2 separate regions of the Homo sapiens genome follow, and region 2 is linked to region 1. Evidence: promoter capture Hi-C in 16 types of primary human blood cells and fetal thymus (Javierre and others, 2016). All regions are on one chromosome and are shown on one strand. The core of a region is centred on a gene start or on the middle of the fragment in contact, and the rest is flanking DNA. Distances in the headings are between cores, read along the strand shown. Region 1 has its middle 64 kb from the start of LINC01641. Region 2 holds the start of PSEN2 (presenilin 2).

Evidence for each region. The method cuts DNA at HindIII sites, captures the fragments that hold promoters and counts their contacts. A CHiCAGO score of 5 or more calls a contact.
Region 2: a contact is called between the fragment with the promoter of PSEN2 here and a fragment that was not itself captured in region 1, in 1 of 17 cell types (endothelial precursors). The highest score is 5.2, in endothelial precursors.

What each region holds. Positions count from the first base shown.
Region 1 is chr1:227,455,718-227,460,159 of GRCh38, forward strand. No RefSeq gene overlaps it. Among named protein-coding and RNA genes, the nearest start is that of LINC01641, 64 kb to the left of the region's middle. The HindIII fragment of the contact is 2,964 bases long and covers 428-3,391 here.
Region 2 is chr1:226,868,768-226,873,209 of GRCh38, forward strand. It overlaps PSEN2 (presenilin 2), which reads left to right and starts at 1,849. Exons shown (of 13, transcript NM_000447.3): 1 at 1,849-1,882; 2 at 2,495-2,637. It overlaps LOC105373119 (a long non-coding RNA gene), which reads right to left and starts at 1,783. Exons shown (of 3, transcript XR_949226.4): 1 at 1,595-1,783. RefSeq lists silencers at 1,652-2,251, 2,262-2,311. The HindIII fragment of the contact is 3,629 bases long and covers 1-2,527 here.

The DNA.
Region 1 (4,442 bases), core at 660-3,159:
CTGGGACTACAGGCCCGCACCACCACGCCTGGCTAATTTTTGTATTTTTTGGTTGAGATGGGTTTCACCATGTTGGCCAGGCTGGTCTCGAACTCCTGACTTCAAGTGATCCACCTGCTTCAGCCTCCCAAAGTGCTGGGATTACAGGTGTGAGCTGCCGCACCCAGCCCCTTTTATTTTTTGATGAATTTTCTGAGCCCCAACTTTTTATTTCTTTCATTTTAGGCAGTGGTGCAATCATTCCACTGCAGCCTCCAACTCCTAGGATCAAGTGATTCTCCCACTTCAGCATCCAAAGTAGCTGGGACTACAGGCACGCACCAACGCACCCAGATAATTTTTATTTTTTGTAAATACTGGGGTTTCGCTATGTTGCCCAGGCTGGTCTTAAATTCTTGGCATTGAGCCGCCCCACCTAATCCCATCAAGCTTGATTTTATTAGCAGAAATCCAGTGTTTTCCTCTTCGGGCCATCCTCCTTCAGAATTTCCAAGAACGCTTTATCCAGCTCTTCCATTGCAGCAGCCTCGCCTCTAATGGACCTCAAAGCTCCCATCTTCTCTCTAGTCCCTTCTCTTGAGAACATCCAGAGTGATCCGACCAAGTCATACCCTTGCTTAAAACCTTTCAGGGCTTTCATTGTTCTTAAAGCAAAGAGTGAACTCCTAACCACACCTTAGAGGCTGGTGTGAGGTGGCCCCTGCCCATTTTTCCAATCTGTGCTCTCCTCCTTCTTCATCTGTGTTCTATCAAGTGGTCTTCTTTCATCTCCTCAACCACACTAAGCCATTTAAAGCCTCAGGGCCTCTGGCCGGGCATGGTGGCTCGTGCCTGTAATTCCTGCACTTTGGGAGGCTGCGGTGGGTGGGTCACCTGAGGTGGAGTTCCAGACCAGCCTGGCCAACATGATGGAACCCTGTCTCTACCAAAATTACAAAAAATTAGTCGGGGGTGGTAGTGGGCACCTGTAATCCCAGCTACTCAGGAGGCTGAGGCAGGAGAATCGCTTGAACCCAAGAGGTGGAAATTGCAGTGAGCGCGCCACTGTGCTCCAGCCTGGGCAACAAGAGTGAAACTCTGAAACTCTGTCTCAAAAAAAAAAAAAAAAAAAAAAAAGACTCAGGTCCTCATTCCCTCAGTCTTGCATTCTCCTGCCCCCATTCTTTGCCTCATCATTTAGATCTCAGTCTCCAGGGAGGACCTCACCAATTACTCCATCAAAAATGTGTCTGCCTCTGCCTGCACACCACCACCTCTATGACCTTCATTATTCCCAGCACCCAGCCCCATATAAAGGAGACAGGAAACTTACTGTATTTTCTTGTCCCCTCTCTGCCCACATTTGCAATCAGGTCAACTGACTGGACTCCTCTTTCACTCAGGTGAGTCTCCCTCTGGTATTTTTAGTGTTCTTAAATGCCAGTGGACCTTGGTTGGAATCATCCCAATTCATCAGACAATTCAAAATAGAATAGGGTTGGGGTTGGAGATCTCTGCTTTTCCTCCTTGAGGGTCCCTCCATGCCCTACTTCATGGCAGCAGTGAAGGCAAGGTCTCAAATACAAGTCTGTTCTAATTTACCTACAAAGCTCCTTCTTATTCTTTTTTTTCAGACAGTGTCTTGCTATGTCACCCAGGCTGGAGTGCAGTGGCTATTCACAGGCACGATCATAGCTCACTGTAGCTGTGATCTCTCTGGCCCAAGTGATCCTCCTGTCTCAGCCTCCAGAGTAGCTGGGACCACAGGCACGAGCCAACTCCTTATTATTCTTTCTTTCTTTATTTTTTTTCTGAGATGGAGCCTTGCTCTGTTGCCCAGGCTGGAGTGCAATAGTGTGATCCTGGCTCACTGCAACCTCCACCTCCTGGGGTCAAGCAATTCTGCCTCAGCCTCCCAAGTAGCTGGGATTACAGGTGTGCACCATGCTTGGCTATTTTTTTTTTTTTTTTTTTGAGATGGAGTTTCGCTCTTGTTCAAGCGATTCTCCTGCCTCAACCTCCCAAGTAGCTGGGATTACAGGCGCCTGCCACTGTCACCAGCTAATTTTTGTATTTTTAGTAGAGATGGGGTTTCACCATGTTGGCCAGGCTAGTCTCAAACTCCTGACCTCGTGGTCCACCTGCCTTGGCCTCCCAAAGTGCTGGGATTACAGGCGTGAGCCAAGGTGCCTGGCCAATTCCTTATTACTCTAAAGCGATTTCTTTCTTTCCTCAATTTCTAATTATCTCTCTTACCTGAATGATGTGTAAGAACTTGGTTTTAATGTTGAGTGATTTTTGCAAGTGACTAAGTGGGGTGGGGTGAAGATTTGGCTGGGGTTTCAGCAGGAGATAGTGATGGTGACTTTGATGGTTTTGTACCATCAACTTTTTTGAAAATGTTGTCAAAGGAAAATCAAACCCCAGTATCTTCTCTTGATGAAAGGATCTGTAATAAGCTGTATTCTTATCAATAATTCCAAAGACTTGGCATGTGTGTCAATGCATTTGTTTAATTCTCAGTTTATAATTTACATGTAATCTTCATTTCTTCCTTAATTGTTAGACAAAAATCTTTGAAGATGTATCTCCAGCATTTTGCACAAGTTATTTCATTATGTTTTTTTCTTTCAGAACTAACATATAATAAGTTTGTTTACAGCCAATAAACATTTGTTTGAGGACAAAGATTAGCCATTTCCAGCATGTGTAATAATTTCCATCCTTATTTTAATTGTTTTTCCACCAAAACTGGCCTTTACAAATTGTATAGTTATTTACAAAATAATAAATGCAGTTACCACAAAATATTCAAAAGTTCCAAAAAATTGGCCAGGCACAGTGGCTCGTGCCTGTAATCCCAGGACTTTGGGAGGCTGAGGTGGGTGGATCACCTGAGGTCAGGAGTTCTAGACCAGCCTGGCCAACACAGTGAAATCCCATCTCTACTAAAACTACAAAAATTAGCTGGGCGTGGTGGCAGGTGCCTGTAATCCCAGCTACTTGGGAGGCTGAGGCTGGAGAATTGCTTGAACCTGGGAGGTGGAGGTTGCAGTGAGCTGAGATCACACCACTGCACTCCAGCCTGGACAACAGAGTGAGAATCCGTCTCAAAAAAAAAGAAAAAAAAAGAGTTACAAAAACTTAGAACCCCTGCTCTAAAGCGTCCTGGGCTTAGCTAAGAATTTTTGCCAGGTAAAAAACAACCACCTTAAGGACAGTTAATGCTAGAGGCTGTCACTCTTACTTGGTGTTTGCTCAGACCTTTTTCTGAAAATTAATGTCTGTGGGTAGAGCTGGGGAAACTGTAAATGTATGAGTTATCTGAGAAAGATTAGGAGGCAGATAGCACAAACATGGAAAGTAGACTGAAGAGCCAAGGACCCAGGATATTGCAGCTCCCACAATGACAAGCTTTTGGAGCTTCTGTCAATCACAGAGGACAGAGCCCGATGGTGGAGTGTCTGACCCTTAGTGGCATCTCTGTTGCACCACATTATGCAGCCCCTGATCCAGTGCATGGCATAAATAGTTGAGCCCTTTTCTTCATGCAGATCTCTCTCCAACTGAATGCTATTTGTTTATTTATTCAACAAGAATGTATTGAGGCTGGGTGCAGGGGCTCACACCTGTAGTCCCAGCACTTTGGGAGGCTGAGGCTGGAGGAGCCCTTGAGTCCAGGAGTTTAAGACCAGCCTGAGCAACATAGCAAGACTCCATCTCTAATTTTTTTTTTAATCAGCCAGATGTGGTGGTATGCCTGTAGTCTCAGCTGCTTAGGATCCTGAGGCAGGAGGATTGCTCAAGCCCAGGAGTTTGAGGCTGCAGTGAGTTGTGAGCATGCCTGTTGAATAGCCACTGCATTCCAGCCTGGGTGACATACCAAGACCATGTCTCTAAAAAAAAACAAAAAAGAATTTATTGAGCACCAACTATGTGCCAGAAAATATGCTAAATGCAAGTAAGGAATGTGAAAGCATGGAAATTATAGTCTAGTGGGAAGAAAGAAAATTAACAAGGAAACAGACAAACAATTAAAAAGAAGATAATTACCCATCTTGTTAAGCACTATAAAGAAAGAGATGGTGAGCTGGGGAAGGTGAACAGGAGTGCTTTAGAAAGAGCCATTAGGGGCCAGGAATGGTGGCTCACACTTGTAATCCCAGCACTTTGGGAGGCCGAAGCAGGTGGATCACTTGAGCCCAGGAGTTCGGGACCAGCCTGGACAACGTGGCAAAACCTCATCTCTACAAAAACAAATTTAGCCAGGTGGGGTGGCACACACCAGTGGTCCCAGCTACTTGGGAAGCTGAAGTGGGAGGATCGCTTGAGCTTAGAAGGTCATGGCTACAGAGAGCCATGATCATGCCACTGCATTCCAGCCTGGGTGATGGGGTGAGGCCCTATGTCAAAAAAAGAAAAGAAAGAGCCATTTGGCTGGCAACCAAGGCTGTCTCTGAGTA
Region 2 (4,442 bases), core at 599-3,098, 590 kb before region 1:
ACATCAGAAAGTGAAAAAGACAATTACAGAATGGGAGAGAAATATTTGCAAAGCATATATCTGATAAGGGTCTAGTGTCCAGAATATATAAAGAACTCTTACAACCCAACAACAAAAAGACAACCCAATTTTAAAATGGGCAAAGGACTTGAATAGGCATGTCTCCAAAGAAGATATACAGATGGCCAACAAACACATGAAAAGGAGAATGCTTAATAGCATTAGTTATTAGGAAAATGTAAACCAAAACCAGAATGAGGTACCGCTGCACACCTACTAGGATAACAATAAAATGGAAAATAACAAGTGTTGGTGAGGATGTGGAGAAATTGGGATCCTGTACATTGCTGGTAGGAATATAAAATGGTTCAGCCATCGTGGAAACCACTTGGGGTTCCCCAAATAGTTAAACACTGAAGGCTGGGCACGGTGGCTCATGCCTATAATCCAGCACTGTGGGAGGCCAAGGCAGGCAGATAACTTGAGTTCAGGATCAAGACCAGCCTGGCCAACATGGGGAAACCCCATCTCTACTAAAAATACAAAAATTAGCCAGATGTGGTGGCACACACCTGTAACTCCAGCTACTCAGGAGGCCGAGGCAAGATAATTGCTCGAACCTGGGAGGCAGAGGTTGCAGTGAGCCAAGATTGCGGCCACTGCACTCTAGGCTGGGCAACAGAGCAAGGCTCTGTCTCAAAAAAAAAAAAAAATTGAATTACCATGCGATCCAACAATTCAACCCCTATGTATGTACCCTCCCCAAATAAAAATGGGCTCTCAAACAAATACATGTACATGCATGTTCATGGTAGCATTATTCACAAAGCCAAAAGATGCAAACAGCCCCAATGTCCATAGATGAATAAACTGTGGCATACATGATACACACACACACACGCACACACATATACATATACACACACAAACACTATTCAGTCATAAAAAGGAATAAAGTCTGTTACATGCTACCTGAGGATGAACCTCGAAAACATGCTAAGTGAAAGACACAAAAGTCCACACACTGTGATTCCGTTTATATGAAGTATCTAAAGTAAGTAAATATAGAGACAGAAGTAGACTGGTAATTGCCAGGGGCTGGGGGGGAAGAGGGCATTGGGAAGAAACTTCTCAATGGGTATGGGGTTTTTCTTTCGGAATGAGGAAAATGTTTTGGAACTAGACAGAGGTGGTGGTTGCACAGCATTGTGAATTCACTAAATGCCACTGAAATGCCCACTTTAAAATGGTAAATTTTATGTTATGTGAATTTCACCTTAAGTTAAAAAAAAAAAAGTAAAACTACTCAGACAACGCCAAATTATTGACAATCTCAACCTACCCCACAGACCCCAAATCCTGGAACCACAACCCCCTAGGCCAATTCTCAGGTCAGGCAGCAATTTATTCCTGTTCAATTTTATGCAGAGCTCCTGGTGGCTCTGAAGCGCCCTAGGGAACAGACCAGGAACATTCTCATGGTGTTAGCTCACATTGGGCCATTAGTGCTCCTTTAATGTGAGAACAACCGGGAGGAGGAGGGGATGTGGACCCAAAACTACAAGAAAGAGTGTCCTCGAAGCCTATGTCCTACCGCCCCACGCTGCTGCCAGGCCCGCAGGAAGATGACAGGCCCGGCCTCCACTCCTTCTAAGGTCGTCGCTTAGTTCCGACGTCGGGATGACCCTGTCATCCACGCGGCGTGAAGGCCACCCTCCCCGCGCGCCCGGGACTCCAGGTGGGGCCCCAGTGGACGAGGGAACGCGGCGTCGCCCACCGGGCGTGGCCTGGGCGGGCGTGGGGCGGGGCCTGGGCCGGCGCCGGGTCCGGCCGGGCGCTCAGCCAGCTGCGTAAACTCCGCTGGAGCGCGGCGGCAGAGCAGGTGAGCGGGCGGTGCCGGGGGGTGCCCAGGCCAGGGCCCTGTCGCCTGCGGCGCTGAGGGCCCGGGGTGGGGCTGCGCCCTGAGGGCCCTGCCCTGCCCTCCGCACGCCTCTGGCCACGGTCCCTTCCCCGGCTGTGGGTCTGCGGCCCCTGCGTGCGCAGCGCTCCTGGCCTCTGCGGCCAGCGCGGGGGCGGAGAGAGGAGAGTGCCCGGCAGGCGGCGGCTGGGCCGGCCCGGAACTGGGTCGTGGAAGGATCGCGGGGAGCGGCCCTCAGGCCTTCGGCCTCACTGCGTCCCCACTTCCCTGCGCCCGCCTGCCGCCGAGCCCCGGCTGGGGGTGGGCGCGGCGCGAGCGGTTAAAGGGCCGGTGCATTTAAAGGAGCGGTGCACGTGGGTCTCTGAGGCGTGTAGCAGGCGGGGGCGTTTTGTTCTTCTTCTCTCTCGCCGGAGACCTCCGTTGCGCCGAGTCCATTCGGCCTCTAGCACCGGGTCCTGGGCATGCTTTCCCCGGGAAGGAGGCGCGCGGGGGCTCTGCCCGCACGTGAGGGGCAGGGCCGCAGGCTCAAGCCTAGAGCCGGTTTCTGTTAGCAGCGGTGTTTGGCTGTTTTATCAGGCATTTCCAGCAGTGAGGAGACAGCCAGAAGCAAGCTTTTGGAGCTGAAGGAACCTGAGACAGAAGCTAGTCCCCCCTCTGAATTTTACTGATGAAGAAACTGAGGCCACAGAGCTAAAGTGACTTTTCCCAAGGTCGCCCAGGTACGATATAGCAGAGCCAGGCTTCGACCCCAGTGTCCTGGCTTCTAGATCTGCTGTCCATCCCTCCGAGCAGACCTCACCCCTGTTTATTGCCTTAATAAGTATTCCCTTTGAAAGGTATGAACGGTGTTGAGTGAAGTAACTGCATCCCTATTTACAAATGGAGAACCTGAGAGCATTCCATAGAGACGATTGTAGACTAACTTAACTCAGAAGCGACAGCCTGGGGTTGCCAAGGCTGTCTACGAAGTAACTTGATTAGGACCGACCCCAGCTTCCAGTAAGGAAGCCTCTGATGCCTCTGTAGCCAATTCTGCAGACACCTGAGCCTCCAAGGCCTTCAGCCAAGACCTTTGGCGGTAATTGGAGTCTCGGGATAAGCTGCTTCAGGTGTGTGAGCCTCAGGTTCTTCTCTCCTGAATGTGGTTGTGGGCAGCCGGTGACTGGCGCAGGTGCAGAAGGGGCCTGGTTCTTGGCCCCACCTCAGAGCTGCGTCCTCACGACGCCCACGTTGAGCCTTGGGTTCCAGGGCAGAGACTGGAGTGAGGGCTTGGGGGCATGTTGCTTTGAAGTGGGATGGATGTATCAGGTTTTTGGGGAAAACTCTGTACCCTTTGGTGTTGAAGTGCCCATGTGCCAAGTCTTGAGTCCAGCATGTTCACATGTGGGGAGTGAGTGGCTTGTTCCTGTCTATTTGAAAGAGCAGCAAGGAGGAGGAGGAGCAAGGGCTAGGGGCTGCTGCTGGGGTGCCTGGAGCTGTGGTGCATAATGTCACACCTGTCTCCCCTCCGTAGCTGCTCACCGTCCCCCCAAGGGGGGTTTGCCTCTTGCCTACTTTGGCCTTTCTCTGTTATCGATGTTAATAATGACATATATCTCGCTTATGAGTTGGTCATAATAAAAAGCTATCTTGTACAGAATATTAGAATTTAAGATCTTAAGAATTTCAATGACACTGAAATAGTTTATTATTACCTTTTTACAGAAGAGGAAACAAGTTCAGGGAGTTAAGCAGCTAGTCCAGTTATGTGGCTTCAGTGCTTTAAGCACCAGGATTTGAACATAGCTGGCTACACTGTCTTTATCTCTTGAGTTTTTGCGCAGGAGGTTCCTGTATTCAACTCCTACCCGTGTCTCTCCACTACTGCTGGGAAAGTTTTGTGGAGTCCCCATGAGCAACTTCCTGACAAACAAACAAAATTTTTTTAAAGAAACCAAAGCAGTGTGTGTAGGTCACATGCAGTGTGTCTAATGAAAACATCTCTGGCGGGTTTTCAGCTGTTGCTTTGACTTTCGGACACTGTTTAGTTGGGGACTGATAAGACAGCAAATATTTCTGCAAGTATTCCCACCTGTTCTATTCCCAGCTGCCACAGCTGCGGAAAGGCGGGGGTGAGGCTGAGAGGCCCCGAGAGGAACATTTTCCACTGGGCTCCAATCCTGGAGATGGGATGACCATCATGTTAATGTCTGGAGAAAAGAATGATTTCAGGCTGGGTGCTGTGGCTCATGTCTGTAATCCCAGCACTTTGGGAGGCCGAGGTGGGTGGATCACCTGAGGTCGGAAGTTTGAGACCAGCCTGACCAACATGGAGAAACCCCATCTTTACTAAAAATACAAAATTAGCCGGGCGTGGTGGCACATGCCTGTAATCCCAGCTACTCAGGAGGCTGAGGCAGGAGAATCGCTTGAACCCAGGAGGCGGAGGTTGCAGTGAGCCGAGATCGGGCCATGGCACTCCAGCCTGGGCAACAAGAGCAAAACTCCATCTCAAAAAAAAAAAAATGGTTTCACATCAGTCCTC